Regions from separate parts of the Homo sapiens genome. Here region 1 is linked to region 2. Evidence: promoter capture Hi-C in 16 types of primary human blood cells and fetal thymus (Javierre and others, 2016). All regions are on one chromosome and are shown on one strand. The core of a region is centred on a gene start or on the middle of the fragment in contact, and the rest is flanking DNA. Distances in the headings are between cores, read along the strand shown. Region 1 overlaps ATXN7 (ataxin 7). Region 2 holds the start of PSMD6 (proteasome 26S subunit, non-ATPase 6).

What was found. The method cuts DNA at HindIII sites, captures the fragments that hold promoters and counts their contacts. A CHiCAGO score of 5 or more calls a contact.
Region 1: a contact is called between a fragment that was not itself captured here and the fragment with the promoter of PSMD6 in region 2, in 3 of 17 cell types (total CD8 T cells, total CD4 T cells and naive CD8 T cells). The highest score is 7.7, in total CD8 T cells.

The regions. Positions count from the first base shown.
Region 1 is chr3:63,908,202-63,913,341 of GRCh38, forward strand. ATXN7 (ataxin 7) reads left to right here. Exons shown (of 13, transcript NM_001377405.1): 3 at 4,387-4,722; 4 at 4,956-5,024. The coding sequence starts at 4,398. It also overlaps SCAANT1. Among named protein-coding and RNA genes, the nearest start is that of ATXN7, 47 kb to the left of the region's middle. RefSeq lists an enhancer at 3,451-3,530 and a silencer at 3,861-4,700. The HindIII fragment of the contact is 1,242 bases long and covers 2,163-3,404 here.
Region 2 is chr3:64,019,973-64,025,525 of GRCh38, forward strand. PSMD6 (proteasome 26S subunit, non-ATPase 6) reads right to left here and starts at 3,522. Exons shown (of 8, transcript NM_014814.3): 1 at 3,303-3,522; 2 at 2,346-2,551. The coding sequence starts at 3,447. LOC105377121 (a long non-coding RNA gene) reads left to right here and starts at 4,103. Exons shown (of 3, transcript XR_940906.3): 1 at 4,103-4,179; 2 at 4,653-4,770. RefSeq lists enhancers at 2,824-3,446, 3,131-3,480, 3,447-4,068 and a silencer at 3,631-3,730. The HindIII fragment of the contact is 6,204 bases long and covers 738-5,553 here.

The DNA of each region.
Region 1 (5,140 bases), core at 1,534-4,033, 110 kb before region 2:
CCACTAAGCTGATGAATTCAATTTACTCTTTCCACTGTTCTCCCTCTACTGGAATACTGATATTCATGACAAGCTGTAAGGTACTTCACTAGAGGGAGCATAGTTAAGGAAAGGCATGCCCCTTGTGCAGAATACAGCCCTGGCTCTCTCTGGAGAAGAACGAGGAAAGGGGAAAGATGTAGTCAGAGGAGTGAGAGAGGATTTGAACAAAGGCTCAGCCAATTTTAGGAAGATAAAAAGAAACCAAAGCCAACACATTCCTAATTTAGTGGATCTGAGTTTCTTGTTACTCAAATGACTTCAGTCCTTTGGGGTTGATAATGGAGAATCTCTGTTACCAACCCTGTAATTTACACAGATAAGTATACTGTAGTTAACTGCTTTTCAAGTTTATTAAAATGTTGTACTGGGACTGGTGGTTTTTTCCAATTGAAGACGGTTGTGTGGGATCTTGTATCTTAGAAATGTTTTGGGTAGTTTTAGCCTTTTTACATTAAACTGGATTTAATGTAGGAAAGGTCAACTTTTTGTTTTGTTTTGTTTTTGTACATTGTGATACCTTTGGCCTTGGAACAAAACATTTTATGAGTGCAAAGAATCCTTTTTGTAAAGAGAGACTTGTTAGCCTTGGCATCTACTGAGAACATCCCTAAATTTGGGTGACGAGATAAGACCACATTTTAAATATGTCCTTGGAAGGGATGAAATGCACAGAATTAGCAGTACTTCACCTCTGACAGCCCAGTTCTTAAGCCATAGACAATCTAGTTGGTGGTGACAGTTTTGATGAATTGTTTCCCCTACTTACTACTTTTCTCACATACTCAGTGAAATTACTATCTTGTGTTCACCCTGGTGCCTAGTAGAGTGCCTAGTCTGTAGCAGGCAATCAGGAATTGTTGGATAAATTGAATACTCATTATTCAAGCCATATAAAATGAATTATTACTTAAGTTTTCAGACAGTGAAGTTCCTCAGAGTTACAAGGCATCATCAGAAATGCACTGGCAGAAGCACTGATTGATATTATACAGGCATAATACTATATTAAAATAACATATTAAGTGAATGTAAATTGTATTGGCCTGGTGTGGTGGCTCATGCCTATAATCCCAACACTTTTGGAGGCCAAGGCAGGAGGACTGCTTGGGCTCAGGAGTTTGAGACCAGCCTGGGCAACATAGTGAGACCTTGTCATCTCCACACACACATACACACAAAAAAAATTTATACACAGTTATATTCTTTTTATAATTTGGTGGTATGGAAAGGGGATTATCTAGGTAAGAGGTCATCAAGTTCTTTACTGTGGGACTGTAGGTAATACAGCTAAGTATTGGGTTTCTGTTGTACTCTTGTTTATAAACAGTATGCTTTGCATAAGGAATGCTTTTAAAAGTTGCCAAAATTCAGATATCAGATGCAGTGTGTCAGCTTGCTGTTTTGACTTTTTTTGGTGACTCATTCCAACTTTAAGGAAACTTCTAACGACTATGGATATCAGAACATTTCTAGGAGTTAGGACTTTTTTATGGGTGAAGAAAGAGTGGGTAAAATGCATTGGCTGCAGCAAAAGAGAACTGGTTGAAGAAATACCAGGAAATGCCCGTCAATCTCTTGTCTGCACATCCTCTTCAGTTTGATAGTAAGTTTCCTAAGGGATTGAGCTGAATTGCTCAGTTTAATATAAGACACTTATTTATAGTGCTTATTTATGAGATTCCTCAATAATTGATAGCTTGCTATTAGTTTTGAGTATTGAGGTACTCAATAATTGGTAACTGCTATTTGTAATAATTTCCCTTAATAACGATCATAATGCCAAGAGGATACTTAATATTTTTCATTTTAAGCCCGCTTGTGTTTTATTAAACCAATCAAAAACTTTGAAGAAAAAAAGAGGTATCAAGCAGGAATTGGGAAAGAAGTTGAAGTACTCTAAATTGCTGCATTGATCCCCATTGGCTAGAAGTCATATTAGTGAATCTTGAAGTAGTTTCACATCCAAAAGAGGAAAGTCAAGCAATGTCTTGAGGAAGTAGGACCATACTTCATGTTTGCCATTCTCCTTATTTTTGTTCTCACTCTGTAGTTTCAGGGATCTGAAGAGCTGTACTCAACAAGCAAGCTCCCTTTGTTATCTATATGGCTTGGTGGCCGCAAGCTTTTCTTTTCAATGGTAGCTTCAAATGCCGTTAAAATCCAAATTTTCGTTTTTCTTAAGTGTAGAATTTCACAATTCCAAGTAATAAATTGTGTACTTTAGGAAAACAGAGGTTGGGTGTTTTCATGTAATTATTCAGATTTTGCAGTGATTTGGAATGAATGAAAAATTGAAAATCTGCATAGGGGTCATCTAAGCTATGTTAAAAGTTAGAAGGGAACTCTATTCCTGTCAAGGGAATTATATGTTTTACTCCTGTGCATTTTTCTCATTGATAGTCTTATGGAGGAAGTTAAAGCTGTAGAAATGATTTTTAAAATTAAATCTTTCCAATCATTTCTACTATTTTGGTTATTTTGATAAGGACAGGAAGTAACCATGGTTTCACTTTTTGGACTTGTTTGCACGCAATCCAGGAAAAAATTTTACAGACTTATTTCTAAATCTTTCTAAAATAAAAATGTGTGTGTGTGTGTGTATGTGTAAGTATGTGTGTGTGTGTGCGCTTTTAAATTTTGAACCCCAAACCCTCTCTAGCAATCCCACCTTATGTTTGGGTTGCAGTGACATTTCTTTATTAATTTTTATGCTTATGTAAACTTCCTGTGTTTCTGCAAGTTGGACCAACAAAGAAGTTGGCTACCTCTGTCACATCAGATGTTTGAGGTACAAAAAAAAAAAGAATTCCACTTCCTCCCCATCTAGTCAGAGAAAGCACTTGTGAGCAAGCATCTCTGACACACATTACAGGAGTTGATACTACTGCAGTGTGAAACATGCGTGAAACATGCTGATAAGAATCACTGTTTTTGTCTCAGGCTTCAAATTTTCACATCAATTTGAGAAAATAGTAATATCAACAATTATTGAAAGTGGTGTGGTCTGCTACTGTTTCAAGTATTTTTAATGCTTTAGGTCATTAAGTAGCCTTTTATTTTGCCATCTGTAGCCTATCGCTAAGCAAATGTTGTGTATGTTGGGGAGGGGTGCTAAGTTTTGCGGGCCAATGCTTAATTTAGTGAACAAAATTTGACCGAAAACAGTATTTTCTAAACATGTTTTGTAGGAATTCCTTATATTCTCCTAATCCCTAGGGTCTCGTCCTGCCCAAGAAAAGACAACCATAAAGAGGGAAGGACTAACAACTCAAGTTAAAAATGAATCAGATTTTTACTTTTGGGGTGAATGAATCACTTCCAGAAACTTGGGGTGGTGCCTCTAAAATATGTACACGGGTTAAAGCTTCTCTCGGTTTGTTTCACTCTCCTCCATTCCCTCGCACACTGATCTCATGTTCTCTCTTTGCTGGACGAATTCAAGTTCCCCAGGCGCACAGTGTGACTTCCAATTGCGGGTCGGGGGCACACATGTGGGCGGCGTGGCGTGCACACGGTACTTCGTCCTGACACCTGGGCAGACACCTGGGAGGCACTTCCCCGCTAGCCCAAGGTTCCCTGCACGCCCGGAGTCCGCTCTGCGGCGGCTTCCCATTCATGCTTTTGACAACTCTGCGGCCGCCCGCAAGCCGAGGGCAAAGTGCCCCCTGCACCAGCCTCTCCCGCGCTGCCCTGGGGCCGGCCGGCCGGCTCCTCCATAGGTGGCTGCATTTCCGACTTCGCCCTGGCTCCAGTCCGGGGGCTTGACGTGCAAACTTCGCCGGAGCGAGCTGAGAGGGAGGGACCGGCAAGTGGGAGGAGGCGGCGGGAGGCGTCTCCGCTTAAGGGAGCCGGCCGGGTGCCGCCGCTCGGACGGACGCGCGGACGGAAGGAAGGAGCGGGGCAGCCGGGCCGGGCCCGGGGATGCAAGCGGCCGAAGGGTGGGCAGCTGGAGGTCCTGGGGTGCGGCTCGGGCTTCCCCGCGCGGGCTGCCATGGTGGGGCGCGGGGTTGGAGCCGGGCCGCTCCGGCGCTGGCCTCCGCGCCAGGTCCTCTGAGCAGAAGCAGGCAGGGGACCCAGCGCCGCGGTGGCGGGCCGCCTGCTGCCCGTCCCCTCCCTCGGGCGGCCGCGGGAGTCGAAAGCGAAAGCTAGCCCGCGCCGCGGACTTTGAGCCCGGGGCGGGGGGTGGCCTTGAGGAGGCGGGCTCGGGGGGCTGGGCGGCCATGGGGGCGCTGTCAGCGTGCCCCACCCGGTCCGCGGGCCGCGCACGCCGCCGGAACTCCCTGGCGCCTCCTTAAAAAACGGCCCCCGCGCGACTCTTTCCCCCTTTTTTTTGTTACATTGTAGGAGCGGAAAGAATGTCGGAGCGGGCCGCGGATGACGTCAGGGGGGAGCCGCGCCGCGCGGCGGCGGCGGCGGGCGGAGCAGCGGCCGCGGCCGCCCGGCAGCAGCAGCAGCAGCAGCAGCAGCAGCAGCCGCCGCCTCCGCAGCCCCAGCGGCAGCAGCACCCGCCACCGCCGCCACGGCGCACACGGCCGGAGGACGGCGGGCCCGGCGCCGCCTCCACCTCGGCCGCCGCAATGGCGACGGTCGGGGAGCGCAGGCCTCTGCCCAGTCCTGAAGTGATGCTGGGACAGTCGTGGAATCTGTGGGTTGAGGCTTCCAAACTTCCTGGGAAGGACGGTGAGTGTCCACGCCCTCCTCCCCCCTTCACCCCCTCGCGACCCCCTCCTCTCTCCTCCCCTCCCCCCTGCCCCCCTCCTGTGACCCGCCCCCTCGAGGGGCAGAGATGCTATCGTTTGCTGGGTTGCGGAACGCGGAGGTGCCCACACCTACCCCGTGCGTGCGTGAGTGTGCGTCACACTCCTGGCCACTGACCTGCCTCTCCCCTCCTCCTGTGTGTGTATATCTCCTAGGGACAGAATTGGACGAAAGTTTCAAGGAGTTTGGGAAAAACCGCGAAGTCATGGGGCTCTGTCGGGAAGGTGAGTCCAGCCCCCCTGATGGAGTTTGTACAAACCCCTGGGAAGTTTCATTGACAGTTCACTGGGACCGGGAACATCAGCCCACCATACCGACTCCCCGACTCCCCGTGCCTGCG
Region 2 (5,553 bases), core at 2,272-4,771:
TATATTTCACAAATTTATAAGGGACTGGGAATACAGCAATGGATACACCTAGCACTAAGATCTTGGTTTTTAAATACTATCCCCCACTAAAAGGAACCAGGGATCCTAGGAGAAATAGATAATTCTACGTTTATTAGAGTGAAAATAACAGGTGAACCTGTGACATTTTGTTTTATCAGAAAATAAGACTAATGAGATATGTCAAAAGGACAAAGTGTCTTGACGGAGCCTCTGCTAACAAATTTGCAACAAACTTAGCACCATAAAGAATAAGACTCTCATCAGTGGTAACAGTGAATAATAAAAGCCCACTAAGTCCATTAAGTATTTAGTAATACTAAATAAAATAAAATATAAAAAACGAGAGTAAATAGGAGGGGAAAAGTTGTTCGTTTTGGAAGAGTATTTAATAAATACAGAGGAAATATAATATTAGAACATTTTACAACTTCCTGATACTGATTCAAGCATGTCCTTGTTGAAATTCTTCAAAACCTGAATCAAAAGTTTCAAGTTTCTCATTCATATGTAATATATTAGTCTTTAAAACCAAGCCACAAACATACAGCTTAAAAGTAAATGGAAACCACTAGATAATTCTAAACTTTTCTGTATTTTCCAAATTTTTACAATGACCACGTCTTAAGTTTACAACCAGAAAAGAGAAAAAAACCTCGTTTTAGATATACATTGCAAAACAACATTTAGGCACTTACTATGTGCTAGGTACCAGTCTAAGCTTTTTCCTATCCTTAATCCACATTAAGTAAAAACTATCAGTACTCCTGTTTTACACATGAGGAAACCGAGGGTTTCATAAATCATAATTACCGAGGTTGAAAACAGAACCCAGACAATCTGATTCAAGAGCTCATGTTATTTTTATTTTTTATATTGGCACCATGTCATTCTATACCTAAATACTTCCAGGCAAATAATTTAAAATTAAAAACATTCAAAGCCCATTTTCTTAACCACTATTACACAGTTACTCAATTAAATTTCAAAGATCCAGTAATGGTGAGTACCCCTCTGGTGCCCTGATGGTGGAGTAAGCTGGCTGCTATGCAGAACAACTGGCCACACATATTTAAAAAAAAGAAGAAAAAAAAAAACTGTTCATTGTCCCGGCGATTTTGTTTCATATACTATACCCTAGAGAAACACTAGCATATACACACAGAGACATACATAAGCATATTTTTACAGCAGCAGTTTGCTAAAGCAAAAACAGATGAAAACAACACATATGTCCAACAACAGCTGAACAGGCAAATAAACTATGCCAGAGCTAGCTCTACAGTGGAACATTAGGCAGCAGTTAACCAGGATGAGCCAGATTTATGTATGTTGGCATGGAAAAGACCTCTTAAATATAATGCTGAATGAAAAGGGCAAACAGGACTACACTAATACACTATGATCCTATGTACTTAAAAAAAAAATTCTGTAGAATTAAAAATTTCTGCAAGTATTAACTTTTTTAAAAATTGGTTCTTTCATTGAGCATTTATATTCTTTTACATATAAAATTTTACGTAAAAAAGATTTTATGACCGGGTGCACTGGCTCACGCCTATAATCCCAGCACTTTCGGAGGCCGAGACAGGTGGATCACCTGAGGTCAGGAGTTCGAGACTAGCCTGGCCAACATGTTGAAATCCAGTCTCTACTAATAATACAAAAAAATTAGCTGGGTGTGGTGGCGCACGCCTGTAATCTCAACTACTCGGGAGGCTGAGGGAGGAGAATCGATTGAACCCAGCAGGTGGAGGTTGCAGTGAGCCAAGATCACTCCATTGTACTCCAGCCTGGGTGGCAAGAGTGAAACTCCGTCTCAAAAAAAAAAAAAAAATTACCAAAAAGTTTGCATAAATGCACAATAAAAGAACTGAAAAGCCTATCCCTGGGCAGGTACAGAGTAAAGAAAGATAACAGAACTTCAGCATTTACTATACTGTTTCTTAGTTTCTGCTAAGTATTACTCGTGTAAAGTACTAAAGACACCAGAACCAGTGCTTCCCAACCAAGTGAGAAAACTGCTGAAAATGATCCCAATTTTGTAAAAGCAGTAAATAAAATTCTCTAGATGTACACTTACGTTTTTATCGGCATGGGGTGAAATGGGGAAGAATACAGCCCTAGCTGCTGTTTGGGGAAATGACAAGGCATTTCATGGAGACGACTTTTTCATCTTTACATTGATTCACCAGTACAAGCAAGCATGATTACCTTTATACTTTTTCTAAAACGAAGTTAATTTTTTTAATGAGAAACGATTACCTGGAATAGTCTCCAATTTTAGCCTATACTAACTACAGAGAGGGAAAACCATCTCTACTCACTTTGTCACCTATCCGGCAGAGGTACTCGGCCTTTGCCATCATTGCATCGCGAATTTCGCTCTCTCCTAGATTCTTCTCTGCATCTTCCAGCTCCTCATCCAAACGCTTCAACTCATCTTCATTTGCCTTCTTCATTTTATTGAGTAGGTCCACGTCTATCTGCCAGTCGAGGGATTTGCACAAGGCTTCATAGTAAGGAGCCATGTCTAACATGCAAAAAGAGGGATGTGTGAGTGGGGACACTTGTGCCCTCAAGTCAAAGTCTGCCCACGTATTTCACCCCCCGCCCCGCCACAAGTCATCCACCAGTCTCTTCCCCACTAACAGGAAGGCATGCGATGGCGCTTAATAATCGGCTTGGCAAAACATAAACGTATGCTGGTGGGAGGTTTGCGTGACGGCCAATCCTGGCAATGCCAACCTCTACTAGGGCTGGAGGGAGGGCAATCCTCGGTTTGCTCTTGCCGGATTCTGTTCCAAAAGTCTTCAAACAGGGAAAGACTTTTTATACACACATACTCACATACATATGTTCAAACATACACATTCACTACAGAAGGGCCAGAAAGAACCGAACCCAAATTTCCCTTCCACAGGCAAGCTGAACTCTCCCACAGGAATACCCCGCGCCCGGGAGCAGTCCCCACTGACAGAAAGTCACGGGGCCTTTACTCTGTGCCTAGCACAGGGGTAAATATTAATGCCTCACGATTCTCCCCCAAGCTGCCCTTACAGGGGAAGGCGGCACAGAGAGATGCAGACCCCGCTGAGGCAAGTCGAGGTCCCCCAGGGTATCCCCAAACCAAAGCAAAACCCTAAGGGCCGGAGAAGCCAGGCCTGGTCTCTGAGACCCCGTCAGAGGGGTCTGGAGCTCCATCAAAAAAAGTCCCCGCAGGCTCCGGAACGCGGGGACGGCCCAGGCCTAGGCCGCTGACTCGGCGCTCGTGCGGGCCTCACTGTTATCGCGGACGGCCGCCATCAGCTCGTCGCGCACGGCAGCGTCTCCGCGGTGCTCGGGCAGGCTGAGCAGGAAGCGCAGCTGCGCGATACGCAAGTCGGGGTTCTTGGGCAGACCCTCCTCCTCCAGGTTCTCCAGCGGCATCGCGGCGAAGGGGACAGCGGCTGACAGGACACAACTTGGTTACGACCGGCTGCGGCAGCGGAAGCGGGAGGAGTCGGCGAATACGCCCGGCCGCCTGCGGCCCGGCTTCCGGTCCCGTCTCCGCCGGCAGCGTCCTCTGCTGGACACCTCCGGGAACGCCTCACCCGGCCTGGGCGCCTGCGCCCCTGTGTGGTCACGGGGGCTTTTCCACCCTCAAGGCCCCCTGCGGAGTCCCAGAGTGGGTGCAGCCCAACTCAAAAGCCCAATTTCTTGAATCTCTTTCTCACTCCCTTTTTAGCTATTTTACTTTCCGTTTGTAACTGATGGGAGCTTAAAATTTTTTGAAAACTGAAAATGTAATAACAGCATTAATAAAAACAATCACCATAGTTTGTCGAGTCGTTACTCTCATTCATCTTATTAAAATCATCTTCATGCTGCGAGGTAGTACTATTAGCCTATTTAGTAGGTAAGACAAATGAGGCACAAAGAGGTTAGGGAAACAGACCAACCAAGGTCATGTAACAGCCATGTCGCAAGGCCTAAATGAAAACCCCTATCTAGAACTCTAAAATCCACATTCTTTCTGCGGTTTTAAGAAGAAAAAAAAACTGCACCCAGGATTCTACGTCATAGTACAACAGCATCATCGTTTTGTTTACACATAAATTAAATCATTACATGCCTGCATTTTCAGCTTCCTTTTGTTCACATTGCTACAGATCTTCAGAGGTGGTAATCTTTACATTAAATTCCTTTTTTTTTTGAAACGGAGTCTTGCCCTGTCACCCAGGCTGGAGTGCAGTGGCACAATCTTGGCTCACTGCAACCTCTGCCTCCCAGCTTCAATCGATTCTCCTGCCTCAGCCTCCCAAGTAGCTGGGATTACAGGCCTGCACCACCATGCCGGGCTAATTTTTGTATTTTTAGTAGAGACGGGGTTTCACCATGTTGGCCAGGCTGGTCTTGACCTTCTGACCTCAAGTGATTCCCCCGCCTCAGTCGTCCAAAGTGCTGGGATTACAGGTGTGGGCCACCATGCCTGGCCTAAATTCCATCTAATGGATTTACCATAATTTACTTTCACTCTTCCCTCTGTTAGAGGTGTCTTTAGGTTGACCAGAGTTTTTACTTACCTAATATAAAAACTTGGATGAAGACTTTGGATGTCTAGATCACTTCATGTTTTGCATCTTTTTCCTTAGCATAAAATCCCATGAAGGAATAACGGACAAAGGGAAGAAGGATTTTGTGACTTGGGGATATTTAATGTTAAATGGTTTTCCAAAAGAGCTGAACCAGTTTACACAGCTGCTGAAACAGGTGAGACTGCCACATCTCACAGGCAGTAGGCATCATCACATAATTTAAATCTATTATTTGTTTCTATAAAAATGAAACAAGCATTTTGAAGACAACTCAAATGATAGAGAAAATATGAAGAGTAAAAAAAAAATACTATTAAATAGCTCTCCACCACTGCTAAACTTTTGGTAAAAAACTTTCTAAAATTCTTTCATTTAGTCATTCAACAAACATGATTGCATGGTTACAAAGTACCAGGCACTGTCTTAGGCCTCAAGGACTCAGCAGTGAAGAGCACAAAGCCCTGTCTTTGGAACTTACATTCCAGAGAAGCATAGCTTCTTTAAAACTCATCTGGGTATATTAACATGATCATTCTATACTCGCACATTTTAAACTGTGTTTTATTCATTCTACCATGTATTGTGGATATCTTGGATGACAATGGATTGACCATATAGGATTCCATTATATTTATTTCTGTTTGTTTGTTATTTTTGAGACGGATCTCACTCTGTTTGAGACGGATCTCAGGCTGGAGTACAGTGGGGTGATCTTGGCTCACTGCAACCTCCATCTCCCGGGTTCAAGCGATTCTCCTGCCTTGGCCTCCTGAGTAGCTAGGATTACAGGCACGTGCCACCAAGCCTGGCTAATTTTTGTATTTTTAGTAGAGACGGGGTTTCACCATATTGGCCAGGCTGGTCTCGAATTCCTGACCTCAGGAGATCCGCCCACCTCAGCCTCCCAAAATGCTGGGATTACAGGTGTGAGCCACCACACCCGGCCCATTATATTTCT